2 separate regions of the Homo sapiens genome follow, and region 1 is linked to region 2. Evidence: promoter capture Hi-C in 16 types of primary human blood cells and fetal thymus (Javierre and others, 2016). All regions are on one chromosome and are shown on one strand. Each heading gives the region's core, a stretch centred on a gene start or on the middle of the fragment in contact. The rest is flanking DNA. Distances are from core to core; before and after follow the strand shown. Region 1 has its middle 11 kb from the start of ITGAM. Region 2 holds the start of PRSS8 (serine protease 8).

What was found. The method cuts DNA at HindIII sites, captures the fragments that hold promoters and counts their contacts. A CHiCAGO score of 5 or more calls a contact.
Region 1: a contact is called between a fragment that was not itself captured here and the fragment with the promoter of PRSS8 in region 2, in 1 of 17 cell types (monocytes). The highest score is 7.7, in monocytes.

The regions. Positions count from the first base shown.
Region 1 is chr16:31,247,032-31,251,547 of GRCh38, forward strand. No RefSeq gene overlaps it. Among named protein-coding and RNA genes, the nearest start is that of ITGAM, 11 kb to the right of the region's middle. The HindIII fragment of the contact is 2,752 bases long and covers 1,255-4,006 here.
Region 2 is chr16:31,133,670-31,138,504 of GRCh38, forward strand. PRSS8 (serine protease 8) reads right to left here and starts at 2,058. Exons shown (of 6, transcript NM_002773.5): 1 at 1,745-2,058; 2 at 1,485-1,502. The coding sequence starts at 1,829. RefSeq lists enhancers at 173-1,119, 4,807-4,835. The HindIII fragment of the contact is 17,481 bases long and covers 1-4,835 here.

The DNA.
Region 1 (4,516 bases), core at 1,381-3,880, 110 kb after region 2:
CTGCCTCCCAGGCTCAAGCGATTCTAATGCCTCAGCCTCCCAAGTAGCTGGGATTACTTAAAGGCATGTGCTACTATGCCTGGCTAATTTTTGTATTTTTAGTGGAGATGGGGTTTTGCCATGTTGGCCAGGCTGGTCTCAAACTCCTGGCCTCAAGTGATCCATCCTCCCTGGCCTCCCAAAGTGCTGGGATTACAGGCGTGAGCCACCACACACCCACACACAGCCTATTCATCTTTTTTTTTAAAGACAGGATCTTGCTCTGTTGCCCAGGCTGGAGTGCAGGAGTGCAGTACATCATAGCTCACTGCAGCCTTGAACTCCTAAGCTCAAGCCATCCTCCTGCCCTTGACCCTCCAAGTAGCTGGCACTACAGGCATGACATACATCTATTAATGCTACCTTATTAGCTGTGTCGTTCACATCAACCAGTTAATTTGCATGTCTATAACTACATCTGAATTTGTGCGCGCTCTCTCTCTTTTTTTTTTTTTTTTTTTACGGAGTCTTGCTTTGTCCCCCAGGCTGGAGTGCAGTGACATGATCTCAGCTCACTGCAACCTCCGCCTTCTGGGTTCAAGTGATTCTCCTGCCTCAGCCTCCCGAGTAGCTGGGACTACAGGTGCTCGCCACCATGCCCGGCTAATTTTTGTATTTTTTAGTAGAGATGGGGTTTCACCATGTTGGCCAGGATGGTCTTGATCTCTTGATCTTGTGATCCGCCCGCCTTGGCGTCCCAAAGTGCTGGGATTACAGGCGTGAGCCACCGCACCCCGCCAGCATTCTTTGTCTTGTCCACAGCTGAAGTTTCCATTATTTATTTATTCAACCAAACTTCATCAAACTCCTTTTTAATGTAGCACATACCATGCTCAGTCTTAGGCGTATGCATTTGGATAATTCAAAATTGTTGCCTTCAAAAAGCTATAGTGAGAGAAATAACCTCATAAACAATAAGATCACAGTGTGAGGACTGCTAATAGAGCTGTGTGTAACAGAGCTTGGGGTTAAGCAGGAAAATTAGGGCAGGCTTCTCAGAAGAGGTGACAACTTGAGTTGGCCCTTGGAGAGCAAGTAGGAGTTTCTAAGGAAAACAAAAAGAAGCAGAAGGATGGTATTCCAGACACACCCAATAGTCAATTGTACTATTAGTTTGATGCAAACGTAATTGCGGTTTTGGCCATGACTTTAATTACTTTAGTTACATTTGCACCCACCTAATAATTATCTGAAACTGCATGACAAATGACCCTAAGCTTAGAGGCTTAAAACAACAGTAATCATTTCTTATCTCCCTTGATTTCTTTTCTTAAATTTAAAAAAATTTTTGGCCGGGTGCAGTGGCTCACATCTGTAATCCCAGCACCACAGTAGCAAAAATAGCTGCAGTGGTTCCAGGTTTTACATCACACTAGGAGGAGAAAAAACATCTTTGTCCTGAGATCCACTTTGATTAGACACATGCCCACACTTGAACCAACGACTTATGTCAGAGCGATAGAATAGTTGGATTGTCTTAGTGTAGTTCACATGCTCCACCCTCAGACCTGGGGCAAAGTCAGTTCTTCCCAAACCACGTAGTCCTCCAAGTGGAAATTGAGAGTCGCTGGGAAGGGGGAAACTGGATGCTGGGGAGATAACCACAAGTGTCCACACAAACTCAATTGTGATGTGGTTCATCTAAGCAACACTCAGTGAGCCCCAGCCAGATAAGGTGCTGGGTCCTGGGATAAAGCCATGAGCAGGACATAGTCACTGCTCTCAAGGCAGCCATTGTTTATCACCCCCCAAGAACGTAAGCTCCTTAAAGGTAGGGAGGTTTCCTCTCTCGTTCACATCCATTTCCCTGAGCCTGGAGCAGCACCTGGCACATAGTTAATACCTGTTGAATGAAGAGTCTAGTGGAAAGATGGGCATAATCTCCAAGTCATCACACCATATACAGTTTAATGCTAGCTCTAGGGACTTTGAGGGGCCAGGGTGTGTGATCCACCCTTTTACTTCTCCTCCTTTTTCTCTTCCTTCTGTTTGTGGCTCCCCCAGGGTGAGAGATTGAGAGGAAAGAATTGAAGGGATGGCAGGGGTTCCACATGACTGGTACCCATATGTGGTTGGAAATGCCCTGACTCTCTCTAGACTCCAAGCTGGGTCCATCTCTTGCTTGTGGTCCCCAGTAGCTGAAGTACAGCTGAGGTGTTCCTGGGGTTGCTATTTAGCTTAACCATGGCTCTCTCCTCTGCTGAGGAGCCCCTTGGAGTGAGAGATGCCTGCCTCCCCTCAGGGCTTTGCCTCCACCCTTTCTCCAACCTCTGTATTCCTTCATGTGGAACCAGGAAGCCCCCCTCTCCCTCAATTTCCCACTTTATTTAAGGCACATAAAACTTTTCTGGAGGAAAGCTCTTGTTGAATCTGCAGCCTCTCCCCAAACCCCAAGGCCTGTAAAGCTCTGAATAGAGAGGCCCTGAGCTGAATGTGACAGTAATGATACTTATATCAGGTCAAGGATGCCTAAGGACCATAGTTACTTTGTCAAATTGTACAAGATGTTTCATCCAGAGCGTGCTTAGAGTAATGATAATGATATGTGGCAGAGAGAGCTAGTTGCCCCCATGTGCTTTCCTCTTCTTCCTTTAGTAATGCAACCCCATTAATTAGCACACAGATACTTAGGATAACATCACATTTTCCAGTCACCACTGCAGTTGTGTGTGGCCATGTGACTAAGTCCTGGCCAATGAGATGTGAAGGAAATGATGTGTGCAACATTTGGTCTCACCTTTAAAGGAAAGGGGCCTTCCCACCATTTTTTTTCTTTGTTATGAGACAGAGTCTCACTCTGTCACCCAGGCTGGAGTGCAGTGGCATGCTCTTGGCTCACTGCAACCTCCACCTTCCAGGTTCAAGCGATTCTCCTGCCTCAGCCTCCCAAGGAGCTGGGACTATAAGCGCCCGCCACAATGGCTGGCTAATTTTTGTATTTTTAGTAAAGGCGGGGTTTCACCATGTTTGCCAGGCTGGTCTCGAACTCCTGACCTCATGTGAACCCACTTCGGCCTCCCAAAATGCTGGGATTACAGGTGTGAGCCACTGTGCCTGGCTTTTTTTTTTTTTGATACAGATTCTTGCTCTGTTACCCAGGCTGGAGTAAAGTGGTGCAATCTTGACTCACTGCAGCCTTGACCTCCCAGGCTCAGGTGATCCTCCCACCTAAGCCTCCCAAGTAGCAGGGACCACAGGCACATGCTACCATGCCCAGCTAATTTTTTTTTGTAATTTTTATAGAGACAAGGTTGTGTCATGTTGCTGCGCTGGTCTTGAACTCGTGGGCTCAAGTGATCTGCCTGCCTCGGCCTTCTAAAGTGCTGGGATTACAGACATAAGCCAACGTGCCTGGCCTCAATTTTTTTTTTTTTTTTTTTGAGACAAAGTCTCACTCTATTGCCCAGGATGGAGTACAGTGGCTTGAGCTCGGCTCACTGCAACCTCTGCCTCCTGAGTTCAAGCGATTCTCCTGCCTCAGTCTCCCAAGTTGCTGGGATTGCAGGCATGTGCCACCACACCCAGCTAATTTTTGTATTTTTAGTAGAGATGGGGTTTCACCATGTTGGTTAGGCTGGTCTTGAACTCCTGACCTCAGGTGATCCGCCTGCCTCGGCCTCCCAAAGTGCTGGGATTACAGGCGTGAGCCACCACTCCCTGCCAGGCACCACTTCTTTTTATCCTTCCTGTCAGCCCGAGGGTGGACTTGGCGCTGGGCCGTCTTTGACCAGGCGGATGAAGACAAAACCCTCAGGATGGCAGAGCAACCTGCTGGAGGGAGCCTGGATCTCCAACACCATGGAGCCTCCGTAACCCCCAAATGCTGATGCTGGGGCCATCACAGGACTGTCTGGGCTAAGCCTCTGTGATTTTGGGTCTTATTACAACAGTTGAACCTTAGTCTCCACCAATACAAATAATCATCTTTGCCGGTGGGGGCGCATCTTACATGCCAGGCACTGTGCTAAGCTTTTCACATGCATTATTTAATTTAACCCTTACAAAAACTCTGTTAAGTCACACATCAGTTAGGGCCTTTTGGGGAAAAACAACAGAACAAGTAGAACATGAGATTTACTGAGTACCAAGTAGCCTATTCCAGGAATTAGTAGTTTTGTTTCCTGCCCTGCTCAGGTTAGGCCCTGAGCAACTCCTCCTTTCAAGGTTGGGAGGCAAGAACTTAGAGATGGTGAAATGGCTGTCGCTGCCCTGCAAGTCACCTGTGGCCAACCATGCTCTTTGTGTGACCTTGGTCGAAACACCTGGGACTCACAAAGCCTGTGGTAGAACAATTTCCTTGGCCTGCCAGACATTTGGCCTGCTGCATGGACAACTGAGGTGGCAAGGGAAGCATCCAGAATGCTTCCCACTGAGCGACAGGCAGCTTTCAGCCACCTACCTCTGTGTGTCATCGAGGGTGCGCTGGCCAGGTCATCCATCAACCCAACACAGTTGGTAGAATGATTACAGCGAATGT
Region 2 (4,835 bases), core at 808-3,307:
CTTCTTGGCTCCACGCGGTCCTTAAGATACATTCCAGACAGACCATGGCACCGCCATCGGACCCAGCCGTCCCCTCTGGACCCTTCAGTTGTGTACATCAGGCCACACACTTGTTTACCCGGGACCTTGGCTGATCCAGGTCACTCTACCTGGTATGCCCTTCCCCATCCTTACTGTCTGGCAAACTTCCCTTTGCCTGTGGATGCTTGATTGGAACAGCAGCCCCTCCGTAGACAGGCGGGCTTCTGCTGGCTGAGTTGGGCATTGCCTCCGAGCCCAGCACCCCCCAACCTCCACCATGCTCCCCGATGCTGCCCAGTCTCACAATTGTTCCGGAGTCCACAACTGTGTCTGTTTCCACCACACCAATCTGGGCATTCCCTAGGGGCAGATTCTCATGTCTGCAGTGCCTGTGGCGTCGTGGACATATATTCAACAAACCAACAGCAGAACTGGGCTCCTGTGATGTGAATGTCTAGTTTCCAGGACAGCCCCAGCCCCACCCCCATTGAGGCCACTTTGGAGTGGAGCCCAACTGCTCTTCACAAAGTCATCTAGGAGCAGAGAAAATTGCAGACCAGATCTTTCTCTCCCTTATCATCATGACAATAGCCACTATTTAGAGAGCCTAGCGGCTGTGCCAGGCCCTGGAGGGGCTTTCGCTTCCTCATCTCCCTGCATCCTCTCCACAGCCCCAGGAGACGGACATGACCAGCTTCATTTTAGAGGTGAGGAGTCTAAGGCTTAGAGAAGTGGGGGGACTTGGCCAATGACACACAGCCAGTGCATGGGGAAGCCAGGATTGAAAGCCGGTCTGACTCAGAGCTGGGTTGGGTGCCTTCCAAGAAAGGAGACCCTTGGTTTGGTTCCCTCAAAACCACCTCCAGGATGGGAACGGTGGCTCACACCTGTAATCCCAGCACTTTGAGAGGCCAAGGCAGGAGGATCGCTTGAGCCCAGGAGTTCAAGACCTGCCCGGCCAACATAGTGAGACCCACATCTCTACCAAACAAAAACAAAAACAAAAACAAAACACAACTAGCTGGGTGTGATGGCATGCACCTGTAGTCCCAGCCACTAGGGAGGCTGAGGTGGGGAGGTGGGAGGATCACGTGAGCCCGGGAGGCTGGATCACTGAGACTGCAGTGAGCTGCGATCGGGCCACTGCACTCCAGCCTGGGTGACGACAGACCCAGACCCTGTTTCAAAAGACAAAAACCAAACCAAAAAAACCACCTCGATTGCCCCACTTTGGGAGTCAGACGTGGATCTGAATCCCAGCTGCACCTTCACTGGCAGTGTGCCCTGGGCAAGTCCCTGCTTCTCTGCCCATAAGGTGAGGGCTAAAACCCCCCACTCTGGGAGCCCTAAGAGAATCTAGTTGGAAGGCAGCCCAGCTGAAGGCCAGGCACTGGTTAAACCCCAGGGGAATCCGATCCAAGTCACCTCCCCCTCCCCTCCTCCCTCTCCGAGGAAAGTCTCACCTTCTGCCCCTTCCGCTCCTAGAAAGAAAGAGAAAGAGGAGGGGTGAGTAGGGAAGACTCGGGTTCCCTGACCCCTTAGTACCCACCACTGCTCCAGAGGGCTGGCCCCTTCCCTGACAGAGCCAAGGTGGGAAAGAGAGGCCAAGAGCTAGGGAGGCCGGGGGTTTTCTTGGGCCCCAGACAAGGGCACACCCCAGAAAATGATCACGCCGGCTCCCTCCAGTGCATTGTCCCCACCCTGCCCCCACGTCCTCACTTACCTGTCCCCGACCGGAGTAATCCAAGATAGAGCAGAATGGCCACAGCCCCCAGCTGCCCAGGCCCCAGGACCCCCTTCTGGGCCATGGCCCAGGACAAGGGCCCCTGGGGCAGACTCCAGGCACGCAAGGTAGGAAGCCTTGGGGTGGTGTCGAAGGCAGGACCCAGATGTTGGCTCAGAGGGAAGGATCCCAGAATCCGGGCTGGAAAGGGGCAGCAAGTGTCCAAGGCTGGCCTCTAAGGCAGGGAGCGGCCGCAACGGGAGACGCCTGGAGTATCCGAAGCGAGCAGTGTGGACGAGTCACCAGCACCGTCTGGCCACGCAGGGTCCTCCCAGGAGTGGCTGCACCTACCTGCCCGCCCCTCCCCTGGCCCCGCCCACTGGCTGGGCTCCGCCAGCTCCTCTTGCCACCAAAGTCATGAGTCCTTTCAGAGCTGCAGGCCCGTGTGTGTGCATGTATGTGTCCGTGTGTATGTGTGTGCACATGCATAGGCCTTTTGTGTGTGTGTCCCGGTGTGTAGTGTGTATGTGGTGTGTGTGTATGCCTGTGTAGGCTGTGTGTGTCCTCTTATGTGGTGTGGTATGTGTGTGTGTGTGCATGTACAGGCTGTATGTGCACATGTGTAGGCTGTGTGTGTCCCTGTGTGTGTAGTGTGTGTGTCTGAGTGTGCGTGCATGCACGTGCATGTGGTTTGTGTGTGTGTGCAGTCTCCCTGGAATGTGACGACTCTCCTCCGCCTCAGGTCTTTCAGGTTATCTCAGGCCAGTTATGCCCCCCAGGGCCTGGCCCCAGCTTTTATTATCTGGAGCCACAGCCACTCCTCCCTTCTTCCCTCCCTCCTTAGGCTGGTTATGGGAGCTTAAGACACTATGGTCTGTCCCCTGCCAGGCCCTTTCTGCGATGCCTGCACCTCATGGGTGGTGGCGAGCTTGTGGAGCAGCACCAATCATCCCACAGACATTTCCTAAGTGCCTATGATGTTCCCAGGTGTCCAGGACAAAACAGGCACCAGCCCCGTCCCCCTTGAGCCCTGAGCTCATGGTGAAGTAGGGGTGACACACTTCAATCAAATAATCACAAACAGGCTGGCAAGGTGGCTAGTCGGCTTTGGGAGGCTGAGGCTGGAGCATCACTTGAAGCCAGGAGTTCCAGACCAGCCTGGGGAATATAGCGAGGCCTCATCTCTACAAAGAAATATAAAAATTAGGCAGGCATTGTGGCGCATGCCTATGGTTCCAGCTATTTGGGAGGCTGAGGCAGGAGGATTGCTTGAGCCCAGGAGTTCAACGAAGCATTGAGCTATGATCACGCCACTGCACTCCAGCCTGGGCAACAGAGGGAGACCCTGTCTTAAAAAAAAAAATTGCAATTACACAATAATTTCAAGCTAGGAATAGTGATGAAAAAGAATGGCGTGAGCACACCACAGCCTGGCAAAGGCTGGCATTGTGAAAGGGTCCTCGAGGAATTGCCTTGGAAACTGAGACCGAAAGGGATTATAAAAGGTGGTAAGGCGAAGATGGGGGGATGGGGTGCAGAGGGCAGAGGCTCAGGGAAAGAAGGCTTGCCGTGTGGCTGCGGTGGGAGTGAGGCATGTATCCTCCTTGAGGGCCACTCTGGCCGTTCAAAACACCTGTTGAGGCTGGGTGTGGTGGCTCACGCCTCTAATCTCGGCACTTTGGGAGGCCAAGGCACACGAATCACGAGGTCAGGAGTTTGAGACCATCCTGAACAACATGGTGAAACCCCATTTCTACTAAAAATACAAAAATTAGCCAGGCGTGGTAGCACGCACCTGTAATTCCAGCTACTCAGGAGGCTGAGGCAGGAGAATCGCTTGAACCCAGGAGGTGGAGGTTGCAGTGAGCCGAGATATTGCGCCATTGCACTCCAGCCTGAGCGACAGAGCGAGACTCCGTCTCAAAAAACAAACAAACAAAAAAAATTGTGGAGCTTGGATGTGGTGGCTCACACCTATAATCCCAGCACTTTGTGAGGCCAAGGTGGGAGGATCATTCTCAAGATCAGGAGTTTGAGACCAGCTTGGCCAACATGGTAAAACCCCGTCTCTCCTAAAAAATACAAAGAAAATTAGCCAGGCGTGGTGGCGCATACCTGTAATCTTAGCTACTCGGGAGGCTGAGGCAGGAGAATTGCTTGAACCTGGGAAGCCAAGATTGTGCCACTGCACTCCAGCCTGGGCAACAGAGGGAGACTCCATCTCAAAATAAATAAATAAATAAAATAAATAGGCCAGATGCAGTGGCTCACGCCTGTAAATCCCAGCACTTTGGGAGGCTGAGGTGGGCGGATCATCTGAGGTCAGGAGTTCAAGACCAGCCTGGCCAACATAGAGACACCCCACCTCTACTAAAAATACAAAAATTAGTTGGGCATGGTGGTGGGCACCTGTAATCCCAGCTTCTCAGGAGGCTGAGGCAGGAGAATTGCTTGAACCTGGGAGGTGAAGGTTGTAGTGAGCCGAGATTGCGCCATTGAACTCCAGTGTGGGCGACAATAGCAAAACTCTGTCTCAAAAAATTAAAAATAAATAAGTTAAATAAAAATACAAAAATTAGTCCGGCATGGTGTCTTGAGTCTGCAATCCTAGTTACTTGAGTCTGAGGCAGGAGGATCGCTTGAACCCAGGAGGTGGAGGTTGCAGTGAGCCGAGATTGCACCACTGCACTCCAGCCTGAGCATCAGTATGAGACTCTGTCTCAAAAAAAAAAAAGTGGAGATGGGGGTCTTGCTTTGTTGCCCGGGCTGGTCTGGAATGCCTGGCCTCAAGCGATCCTCCCAAAGTGCTGGGATTACAGGCATGAGCTGCCGCACCTCGTCTCTGGTTTTGCGTTACTTTTTAATTGTAGATTCATTGGCTGGAAACCACCTTCCCTTTTTCTGTGCTCAAACATCACTGCTATGACATCTTCCCAATCCCAGCCAGGGATGTCCACATGTGTCCCCACTAGATTGGGAGGACTTTGTGGGCTTATATATCAGACCCCAATTGTGCCACGACTTAGTAGCCACCAGGGAACACGGGTTGAATGAATGCAGGGAGGTGCAGGTAAGCAGTGGGTAAGGGAGT